Linked DNA regions of Homo sapiens: region 1 is linked to region 2. The links are contacts of gene promoters, found by promoter capture Hi-C in human tissues and cell types (Jung and others, 2019). All regions are on one chromosome and are shown on one strand. The core of a region is centred on a gene start or on the middle of the fragment in contact, and the rest is flanking DNA. Distances in the headings are between cores, read along the strand shown.

Region 1 (6,042 bases), core at 3,543-6,042, 40 kb before region 2:
GGGTGCCATCGGAGCATCCCCATCCAAAAAGCTTTTACAAACCAAAAATAAAGTGGATTACTTTTATTCTTTTCAAGAAATTTCAAAGACAGAAAGAAATTTTCTGGGATCAGGGCAACAGGATCAAAAATTAATCAGTTTGGAAATACTTTAAAAAAAAAAAAAAACCTTTCAAAAGACCAACAATGAAATATCATCCCTTGACACATTCTAATTATCAGCAGAGGTAGTAGAAGCATTTCTGTCTAAACCAAAAATTTAAGCAGGGATAAAATACCCATTTGGAGCTGCCATGGCTCAAGGGAGCATTAACAGAGGCTGATGTCAAGAAACTGATGTCAAGAAACAAATTTAGATAGAATGTTAGAAAAAAAAATGTCTAACATCAGTCTATTAGAGATTGCAAACATCTCCCAGGAGCAGTAGCATCTGACCTTTTGCTAAAGTCATTTTAAGCTGAACTGAGGAAATACACAACAGGGAGTCATATTTCACCAGCTGTGAATGGCCGGGGTGACCTAATAGGCCGTTTCTAGCCCAGATAGGTAATTGGCAACGTTTTATAGTTTTGTTCAACTGTCAGATGTGTGAATAGAATAAGAATGAATATCTCATCTGCAGGTAGCTCATCTTGTCTTCTAAAACCCTATCTCCTTCTTCCACAAACAAGTCTGGATTATAATTTCAAAACTACGGTTCAACTCTTCCACACACAGCCATCATTTAAGGTGACAATAGGCTGGATTTATAGAAAAGACAAGTGAGGCTTTTTCAAGAAACAGCTATAACTCAGTATCCCATTGCCATGGGGCTGGGGAGCACCTATCCCGGCAACCTCTGGCTGAGGTTTCCCCTAGTGCTTGGTTGGTACCAGGTCACGTTGACGAGGCCCACAGGTGAAAAGGTTATAAAGTTTCTAAAGAATGTTGGCTACCTTCTGCCTGAAAGATCGCAGTCACACTTTAATTTCATGTATGCCAATTGCCACCAGAGGGAGGCACCCACTTCTTTTGTGTTTCTGTCGAGTGGACCACTGTTGTCTACACCTGTGCTCACCTCGAGGCCAGTCACTGGGGTGCCAGCCTCCTTTCTAAACTGGACATATGCTACAGAAAGATCCAGGAAAATAAACCCTGTTTCCCTGTTTTACTGTCAGATAGTTGGAAATGCAGTTTTTCTAGAGGAAATGTTAAATTTTCCCATTTTCACCCATTTTGTTGAAATAGTTGTTATTTCAACAAAAATAACTACTTGTTATCCTGTGTTCACAGCCGGTGACAATCCCATTCAGATCCCATCCATTGCCCTTACTTTCCCCTCCACTGCCTCCACCAAGAAAATACATCGTATTTCTCCTGTGGACTCATGTGCGATATCCCCTTGATGCTTACAGAAAATAAAATCAAAAGGAGTCAAATGTCCTACACTGTCCCAGGAAAGAGACAGCCACAGAATCATAAAGAGTCAGAATTCGACAAGCGCCCAAAGACAATGTCGTCGTACAATGCTGCAACCCAAAGAGATAAAATGATTCACTGCAGGTGAACCAGGAACAAATGAGTAAAGCATAGAATGGCAGGGACAGAACAAATGGGAATTCACCCAAGCCCCACCCTTCATGAGCAAACCAAGAGTCGGATGAGGTTTATTGGCAGGCCTTCAGGCCAAGCAGCTCAGGGGCCCTGCAACCGGGGAAATGGCTAAAGGGCGAGGAAGACCCTAAAAACAGTCAGCAAAAATGCCCAGCTCCTGCTGGCATGGAGGCAGCCTGGCATCAGCTAATCCATGGAAAACCCCAGCCAAAATCGGATGCTAAACATTGCTCTATCTTATTCTGAAAGTTCTATGAAACAATTACTGAGCTCAGAGTTACCTGGGAGGAACCTTCAAAGCACTTTCCCCAACCAGCAAATGCATTATAATCTACAACCCAGCATCTGCATGGACCATTTCTCATGGCCTGGCCCATTTTCAAAGCTCACTATAAAAACACTTTTTTTTTTAATGGACTGGTGGGAAATTGGATTTTGGTGAGTGCACATCCATCCAAACTGCCAAAAGCTTTATGTTTGTGTGGAAAGAGCGAAACTTGAAGTGTAAGAAAGGTTGGGTGAGAGGAGGATCATGGTCCCACGATGATTAGCCCCGTTTGCGATGACTGCTGTGGGAAGCGAGGTCTGCCCTCCTACACAGGCCAGGTCTGTTGCACTTGGATTTGGTGAACTGGTAGCAACTGGAGTCTGAAGTGAGACTTGCTTCACTCACATCAGTGCCCGGCCACTAAAGTGTCTCTCTGACATCCGAGGAGACTTTGCTGTCTAAATGAACGCCAGAGCATGATTCGATTTCCAATTGTTTTCAGGGTCTGGGATGGTAGAATAGTAGAGAGAGAAGAACACACCTTAGAAATATTGAAGAAGGCTTGGGAGGCCGAGGCGGGCAGATCGCCTGAGATCGGGAGTTTGAGACCAGCCTGAACAACATGGAGAAACCCCATCTCTACTAAAAATACAAAAATTAGCCAGACGTGGTGGCGGGCGCCTGTAATCCCAGCTACTCGGGTGGCTGAGGCAGGAGAATCGCTTGAACCCGGGAGGCAGAGGTTGCGGTGAGCCAAGGTCACGCCATTGCACTCCAGCCTGGGCAACAAAAGCGAAACTCCATGTCAAAAAAAAAAAAGAAAAGAAAAGAAAGGAAGGAAGAAATTTTGAAGAAGCTGCTTGCCAAGCACAAAAACAGCAGCAAGCATCCCCTTCACATAATCATAAGTTCCTGAAGGGAGAGTTTTCATAAACGTTGTGATGGAGGCCACGTCGCTGACTTCCCAGTTCCTCCTCCCGGCACACCCAGCCATATCTTGGTCTATCCAATCAATACGTATTTCCACTGATCACAGTTCTACACCATTCCACATCCCAAGAGGAAAAAAGGAAATGGCAACTGGAACAGAAAAACCATGACCAGAATGCAAGGAGATCCCAGCAGGTGAATAAGAAGCATCTGCTCCTTAGTGAATAGGAGAAGGGGGTAACTTTCAAAGGAAATACAATTTTAAAATTAAACCTAGTGATATGCAAATAATTTGGCTTCTTGCTCATGATGAGACTGAAGGAAATAACATGTCAGAAAAACAGAGCAGCGACACGGAACAACAGTCTGTAAGAAAACGGTGTGCTCAGCCTGAGCAGATACAGGATCTGCCCGAGGAAAAAGCGATAGTAAAAGAACAGATCAATATGCCATAATAGCCATGAGAAATTGTCATTATAATAACTGTAATATCTACTCCTTCGAATTAATGCTGGAAATAGTGAAGTCTATAAATGGCTGCATTTTAAATTCAATGATCTCACAGTACTTGTTATTCTTCTTCCTTCTTGAACGTTCAGAATGTACTTGACATTAAAGGGGCCCTGATTTCATTTCTTCACCATGGTGCAGAAAAGAGCAATTCCCCTGGTTGTGTCGGGGGAGGAGAGAGAAGAACTTAAAAGGAAATACGTGCAATTTAAATAAGGAGATGGTCATTTCTCATATTTTTAAGCAGCTGATCCTGCAGTCACAAATTTGAAGTTTAATTCAAGGTTATGAAGCCAAGATATCCAAGAGGGACCTGAATGAAAGCAGATTGGCTCCTTGGCGCCTCTCCACAGGGGTGGAGGCAAAGCTTAGCCTCTCCTCTGAGACCTCAGTCCTGCCTCCCAACCCAGGCCAACACCTACAGCCCCAGGCACAGTAGCAGCTACTCCAGCCTCCCAGAGAGCACCTGGAGCCGCGGGCACTCCCACCCTCCTCCCCACCTTTCCTTTGGGCCGAGGCAGCTGGGGAGTCATCCAGAGACTCTGCTCAGTGGGAGCAGAGCCTGGGGCGCCACTGAGCCCTTGAGAAAGCAGCTTTCTGGAAGCCCACAGTCTGTGGGTGTGTGGCTGGAAGCTACTCTCCTCCTCCCTCCTGGTCTGACAAACCCCAGCTTACAGGGGAGAACCGTGCCTGCCCAGTCCCTTCCCCATTTCCCAGTTGGCCTGCCATCTAGCGGGGCCTTCCGTTCAGACTGGGTGGAGGTGTGAACAGCTCTGTATCCACCCTCACCCACCTTCCAGCCAGCTTCCTCTTGTGTCTCCTCTTTGGCCACCTCCTTGTCCCCTTAATGACACCTGAGGAGGGATGAGGGGCTTACACCGACTGTGGGGAACACACATTAACCTTCACAGGGACAGCCTCATCGCTCCAGGAATGTCAAATATGTCATCCTTAAAAAAGAGATCTGACAGTTTTCTTTCCTTTAGAAATACTAAGCCAGCCAATTACACTACACAGTTAACATGAAAGCATGGTTTCAATAAACCACTTTTCTTGCTTTTTTTTTCTGAAGCCAATCCAGAATTTGTATACAAAAATCATTCCCACTTTGTCTTTGGGAAGCAGCAATCACTTATCGTATAATAAGCTACATTTTTTAATTAGTGGGGACAAACAGGGGAACAGGGTGACCTGGCCCAAAGGCCAGGGAGGGAAGTACATTGGCAACAACTGGAAAAAGGCACTTGGTACAATGGAACCCTGCATTTCTTGCTTCTCAGATTCACTCTCCTCTCTTCTCCTGCTCCACCTAATCATTGCTCTGTAGTTTTGGCTGGGAAAGTCCAACGGGTAGAAGTGATTAGAAGGCACTTTTTTTTTTTTGAGACAGAGTCTCACTCTGTTGCCCAGGCTGGAGTGCAGTGGCACGATGTCTGCTCACCTCAATCTCCGCCTCCTGGGTTCAAGTGATTGTCATGCCTCAGCCTCCCAAGTAACTGGGATTACAGGTGCCCGCCACCACGCCCAGATAATTTTTGTATTTTTTGGTAGAGATGGAGTTTCACCATGTTGGCCAGGCTGGCCTCAAACTCCTGACTTCAGGTGATCCACCCACCTCGGCCTCCCAAAGTGCTGGGAGCCACCACGCAGGGACTTTATTTCTTAATTCTAGCAACCTACTAGTCTCTGCAAAGTTGCCACAGCTTAGCTGTACCTTTCAACAGGCCAAAGCCCCTGTCTGTCCGCTCCTCCAGATAGGCCTCCCTGGGATTCTGGTTTCTCCTTTTCTGGGTCTGCATCTCCCCCGAGCTATGTTCTAGATTGGCTGCTAGAGAGCTTTCTTGGGTGACCCTGGGGACTTCTGCCCGGGGTCCGAAGCATGTTCTGTGGTTGCTCTAAGGGTATCCTGGAGACACGCCCAGGGCTGCAAGGCTGACTCTTCCCTGCCTCATGTGGAGGGGAGAACACATCTAGCTTGAGAGGGAGATCTACTCTTTGAGGACAATTCAGCCCACTCTGCCCACTGACAGCATTATTTTCCAAGGAGAAATATTAGCATTTTTCCGTGCTTTTGTAATCCCAGATGTACCTAATATGAAACCTACAAATTTAAACCATCTTATCATTTGGCCCAGCCTGAGATCTAGGTGGGGTTTTGCTTCTGAAAAACTGCCTGCTGTGCACATTAATTCTATAAATAAGATTATGAGTGTTTCACCTACTTAAAAGAGCAAAAGTGTTTTCAAGCGCGTGAGAAATACTATTTCCATAAAAGTAATTGACAAGCAGAACCTGAAACATTTGAAACCTGGAATATCTCCTGCTTGGGGCAGGTTTCCAAAGGCTAGAGGGATGCACATTTTCCTGGTTCAAGCTGCTTCATGGCCAAGATCTTGAAGATCTTTAAGAGTAATTCATTGAGAATAATGTATAACTTTACTTTTTCACCAAGGTGTATAAGCTTTCTCTGTATGATGTGGAATGAAATTCTATTTCAGCTGATCTAAAGCTGTCCACTGCTCAATCTCAAAAAGAAAGAAGGAAGAAAAGGATGAAAGGTAGGAAGAAAAGACGGAGGGAGGGAAGGAAGGGAAGGAAAGGGGGAAGGAAGGGGAAGAAGGAGGAGCGGAAGGAAGGAAGGAGGGAGAAAGAGAAAGGGTGAGGAAGAGGGCAGGTGAAATATGAAGAGGCTATAAATGAACATGTTGCTTTGATGTTTTAATTTTGAAAACTATCATGGCT
Region 2 (5,998 bases), core at 2,820-5,319:
AAGAAGTTGAATTGTCATTTGACCTTTGTTGCTGGGTTTTGCAGACCATTTGCAAAACCCACATTTTATGCAGTCACCCTCAGAATCTGTGCTTAACAACTGGTCTAAAATATACAGCTCCTTACAAATCTAATCAGCCACCCATTAGCATCTGTTTGAGTTTACCCTTACGTTGTAAGAAGCTCAAAGCCATAATCTTTCTCTTCTTAGGATCTGTTTCGTTTTAACCTTAGTCCCTCCACTGGGCAATCGTGAGAGTCAACTATGTAAGCCCCAAACCACTGTTGTATGTATGATATTTTAAAATCAGTGGCAAAACATTTTTTTAATTCATGTTTTTTCTATGTCCTCACCTCACGAGTTAACTGCATGTAGCCTCCCGTTTGCAATCTCTGTCAAGAAAAATGCCATTTACAGCTTTCTTCTTCCTTTAGAGATTATTGTACGTTTTAACGTATACATTAAGTTCGACATGGATTCTGTTTGGGTGCTAAGAACAGACATGTGTATCTAAAGATTTACCCTTAAATGTCCTTGATGTTTTTCAAACCATGCCTTTGATGGGCATCGCCTTGCCCTGCGGCCAATGTCTAGACGAAAGAAAGAGCCACAGCCCTTGTACTGAGTTGCACTTTCCCATCCACGCCAAAGCAAGAAAAAAGCCCAGCCCATGACCGTGAAACTCGGGGTTACGAAGAGGCTTTTCCCAAAGGGGTCTCAAGTCCAATTAATAGCTGTCATTTGATTACGTGACCTGGAACGTCTCCAACCCGCACCCTAAACAGGGCAAGGGCGTCACGTTTTTAAATTCACGCTCAGATGTTTGTCCTTATGCCTTCCAACCTTGCCCCTAGCTCTCCTAAATGAGTTCTTTTGAAAAGCAACTTAAAAATAGACACCTAAAGGAGAACGTGGGACTGACTGTCATTATTCCAGGAACTCTTTTTTCAAAAGCTCTATGAAGTGGCTGAACAAAGGTAGTCATTTTTCTTGTGCCTGGGTGAGTACGATGAGGGAGAAAGAATGCACCTTGTAAACTGAGGCTGTGATGGTTAAGATTTCTGATCCAGCTGATAGACTTAAGCCTGCATTCTGATCCCTGCTACATTCTCTTCCAATTCATCTCATAGATTGCTCCAGGCACATCTGACATATTTTAATACCAAAATGTAAATCAGACACCCCCACAAACCACCTCCTCTCTCTCACATTACCCTAAATTTGGACTTTACTTTCCTCGCTGTACTTTACTTTCCTGAGCTGTTCTTTTCTATCACATGTCATTTCCCCTAAAAAGTGTTGTTACAGGAAATAAAGAAGACGTCTTGTTGTAAAGCTGCCCAGTTTAAAGCCAGTTCGAGGCTCCCTTTGCCACTCCACCTTTCCCTTAAAGGCGGGGAGGCCTGGAAGTGCAGAGCAGGCCCCGGGGAGTATATGACACTTTGGGGTCCTCTCCAGCCAGCAGGCTTGCCCACTGGCCTGGGTAAGCAGCTAATGAGCTCCGGAGCCTCTGCAGCAGGCACTCAGCCCTGGCACTGCAGCAGGCACTATTGGCCCACCAGACCCCAATCAATCCTAAGGTCAAGGAAAGTCTGGCAAAATCCATTGCTCTGGCTTTCTTTGGTAATTAGTCACACATGCAAGTAAATGATGATCTGAAAGCCATTTCTGCCTGAGAGTTATTAAAACTAGGAGCCACATTTAATTCATCCAACCAAAGAAACCCCTTGAGGGGTGCCATGAAGGGGGAATCGAGTTCTCTACCCAGAAAGGAGCTTCTGTTGCACTTTACTAAAGATTTTAAGCAGATTTGAGGTTTAGTCAAAGGACAAATTCCTGCTCTCCAAGGAGCACATGCCCAGGAACTTGGAGATCAGCCAGGAGCGGTGGCCATGCTGATGGTCAGAGGGAGGAGGCCTCATGTGATGTGAGGGGGAGAAGAGGGCAGGAGGGAGGATGAGGAGCAGAGAGCTGGGAGGGGTTTTGTGAGCAGCAAGGGGAGGCAGAAAAGTGGGATGTGCCCCTTGTGTGCTTTTATCCACATTAAAGGAACTAAGGCAAGAGCTCCTGCAAGAACCTGCAAATGTGTCTGATAAGCGCCATGGCGGGGCGGTGACTACAGAGCTGCCCTGATTACCCGTTCAGCAGGAACCAGGCTGTGACCCTAATCACAGGTGAGCTCTGGAACACGCGCTTTCTCCCTGGAGACCCGCACAGTTGAGTGAGCCCAGCAGAGCTGAGCATCCTGGAGAGCTCATGAGCACCTTGCTGGCCAGAAGCCTCAGCAAGTGACGGCATGACTGAGCCAGAATCCCAGGGTAGCTGACTTGACCCGAGAGGCCACCCCTCAGTGCTGTGCTGCTTTCTAAGTCCTTCTTCTATAGGAAACTCTTATTGGATAAGTTGTATATAAAGAAAAACCACTCCACGCAGCCATCCCTTCTTGTTGCAAGCAAGGTGAGCTGATGTGGACACAGAAGCTTCTGAAATATCTGTAGAGTCCAGCAGAAAGCCCCTCCTCCTAGCATGTGGGAAATGGAGGTCTCATCCTCATCATTCCATCTCTATTTCAGAGCCCCAGCTCCTTTCTTTCTTTCTCTTCACCTCCCCTCTCCTCCTCCAACCTCTGCCATCCCCTCTGTTCAGCAAATTCCATACACATTTAGACATCAAGATTCACCCGGCAGTCAACCACCCAGCATTGCAGCCCAAGTCTTGGCTCTACTGTTCTTTAGCTGGTGACCTCAAACCACTTAGTTCCCATCTCTGTGCCTCAGTGTCCTCATCTGTCAATTGGGAATAATAATGGTGCCCACTGCACGGAGTTGTTGAGAGGTTCAAAGAAGGTGACAGATGCAGAGACAGCCTGACACTGTCGGCACACAGACCATTAGGCAAGTGTTAGCTGCTGTTACAGGTACCATTGATTGTGGTGGTGGGAGAATTCCCATCTTCCACCCCACAGTTGGTCTCTCCCTGCCTCAAACCCCTGGCTTTGTCCTAAACCCCATTTCTAAGTTTTATAGTGCTTTGCTCTTCTTCTTGTCATGTTTACATCAAAAATCACCCATCAGAGAGATAAAAGCAGGGAGGAGGCATTTTATTTCTGAAGTTGTTAATTTTATCCTAGACTTCCAAGAAAAGAATCATCCATCTGTCAAAAAGAGACAGAGAAGATAAAAGATCTTTAAAAGTAATTATTTAAGTGCCAACCAAGAGGAAATGAAGATGCATTTGGCTCGGTTATTGAGTTGAATTAGAGAATGGTGTTGTACCACCGCTAATCTGCTTCATAGATGAGAAAAAAGGAGAAGATGATTTTAGAAAAACAAACGTGCTGTCAGTTGGCCCCAGTAAAACACATTCTGTATAAACAAGTTTAGAGAAGTGACTTTGGATTTGCAAAATTGTAGCTCTTCTTCTGCCGGGGCCGCCTCCGGTCTTAGAGCCACAGATCTATACACACGGATGTTTCCCAGTTCCTACTACTTTTTGCATTTCTTTCCCTGGTGCTCTGATTAACTGCAGAGGTAGTTTGTACAACTGAGCCATGAAATGCCACCCAACGGCCAGCCCTTTCCCCACCTTGTCCCCTTCCCTTCCATGGCTTGCATTCACCAGATGACCACCTGCCCACTCACATTCTGAAAGGTATCACCGCGGGAATCATGCAAAGACACGCATCTTCGTAAGAGAATAAAACATTTGGCTTTCTCTTCTGAGCTCTAAAACCCAAAGCACTTTTCAAAGTCACCATTCAATCAGAAAGCAAACCTTTCTCCTCCTCAGGCTAATTGTAGAAGTTGCAAACTTAACCAATTTCTGCACTTACCATTCAAACCAAGAGATTAATCCTGTCAGTTCTCCAAGCAAATAATTACAGGATTAATTTGTTCCTCAGCACTGCTAAGTCCCTCACATTTCCTGAGACTAATCCTTCAGCCGAGGTCCCTTCTCACTCCTAAGTTTCCCTCTCCAGGTCGAAGCATCACTCACCTCACTCATGTTGGCTCTAACTCAACAGCTCAGTCCCGCCGCTCAGCACAGAGAACACTGCTCAGGGGTCGCTGCTCCACCGGTTCTGGCTTTTCTCTTAAAAAGAGCTGCCCGGTGGCATCATGCCTCCCTGGAGCCAATGAGATGCATTCACCTGTCTGCAAGCCTGGCCGACATCTGAGAGCACCAGGGGCCACCTAGTGGTGCAAAAGAGAACGGCACGTTAGGTCGCTGCTCCAAATTCCGCCAGGATGGAAGGAAATGCTCGATTTCTTTAAAAAGTAATACACTCCAGCCTGGGCAGCAGAACGAGACCCTGTCTCTTTTAAAAAAAAAAAAAAAGTAAAAAGTAAAAGCTAAAGTTTCAAAGATCATCACAGGGATGCCATTGTGCGTTTTTCAATGAGTGCAAGATTTACATGCATGTAAAATACCTTTCAAATGTCAATGGGAAGGATTGTTTTTCTAAGGGAAGAGGAGCTCTGAAAATACCTGCGTGCCCGCTCACGCACTTTCAGGTTTTCCCAGGAGCTGTGTTTCCCTTGCCCTTTATAACACAAAACTCAGCCCAAGGACTTTAATATCTCTGCTGTCTCTCCCCTATCCCATATCTGTCGCCCTGCTTGTACCCTGAGCTGGAAGGATAAGAGTAGATGGACTGGGACATGGGAATGGGTCCCCACGACCTCAACAAAGGAGGCGAGCGGCTCCAGCAGCCTTGCTGATGTGCCCTCCTCACAACCACAGTGGGGCCAGGAAGGAGCCTGGGCATTGGCCCTGGCCTGGTTGAAGGTCTCCTTGCCTTAGTCCTGTTCAGCTTTTCCGGGAAGAGGTTCCATCCTTTGTTCAGTCCCAACATCGTGAGGCTCTGAAGAGTCTTCAAGGCATCAGAGTGGGCCCTCAACTGTCCCAAAAAAGCGTTGTGCAGACTGAAGGCACATTCACATCTGTTACTCTGCCAGTCCCGGTACAGGACTGAGAGGGTCTGGCGAGAAGATTGAAGCGTCTTGCCACCCGTCCCCAGCACCCCTCATCTCCCTGTGCAGAGCAGGCCACCAGACTCCAGCCCATCAACCCTCTCTCCTCAGCTCAGCAGCCCCACGCCCTCTGACCTGGACTGCCCTCCTTACATGCCCAGGTCACCGATGCGACCACATCCTCAGGTCCACCTTGGACAGCAAGCAGAAGGCCATGCGCCCCCAAATGGGCACCGGCGAGCACAGGCTGCCCTCAGAGGCCTTGGCCAGGAGCACCAGCTGGTCAGCACCCTCGCCCACAGCGTGGGAACACCAGCCAGCAAGACAGAGTCTCATACATGAGTTATTATAAAATAACCTATATTTCACAGAGCGACAGAAATGAACATTATATATATTATATAAAATATGTGTGTTATATTCGTTTCTTTTATATGTATATAAATTATTTATTTACATATCCTGACCACACAAATCATTTGCAAACTAATGAAGACAGCATCCTCCTTCTCTCACTCCCCTCCTCCTCCTTGCCCCCAATGCCACGCTTGGGAAGGCCCACGTGGGATGCCTTTAGGGTTGCCCAGGTGGTTAGTAGTGGGAGAGAAGGAGGAGGAGGGCAGGGTGAGGAACTGGAGCCATAGTGTCATCTGCGATGTAGGACAGATTGACAGATTGGAAGAAGGGTGCTTGCTTATCTATACTAGGAGACACCTGTGATTTCTCAGGGGCAAAAACCACACCCTCCCCAGGGGCCTCCTGCCCTGTTGGGGGCTGGACCCCCACAGCCTGGAGGTGTAGAAGGGGTCTCCCAGTGTGAGCCTCCATGGGGTCCCTGCTGTGGTCCTCCAGGCTGTGCAGAGGGCATGTGGAGAATCAGCCTGTGCTCTGCTGGCTGGCTCTGGAGCAGACCTGCATTTTCTAACAACACAAAGACACATCAAGGGCTGCAGCAGCCTGAGGTTGGCAGCACAGCAATTAGTGCTGAGGCTCCAAGTAGAGGGGCAGGATTGGAGGTGCAGGGC

What was found. Contacts are between HindIII fragments. The study calls those that stand out against the background at their distance.
Region 1: a contact is called between a fragment that was not itself captured here and the fragment with the promoter of PCP4 in region 2, in 1 of the 25 tissues and cell types used here (thymus).

What each region holds. Positions count from the first base shown.
Region 1 is chr21:39,906,438-39,912,479 of GRCh38, reverse strand. The region is part of intron 2 of PCP4 (Purkinje cell protein 4); the gene reads right to left. Among named protein-coding and RNA genes, the nearest start is that of PCP4, 42 kb to the right of the region's middle. The HindIII fragment of the contact is 3,855 bases long and covers 2,865-6,042 here.
Region 2 is chr21:39,865,509-39,871,506 of GRCh38, reverse strand. PCP4 (Purkinje cell protein 4) reads right to left here and starts at 4,069. Exons shown (of 3, transcript NM_006198.3): 1 at 3,997-4,069. The coding sequence starts at 4,005. RefSeq lists a silencer at 2,018-2,171. The HindIII fragment of the contact is 8,471 bases long and covers 112-5,998 here.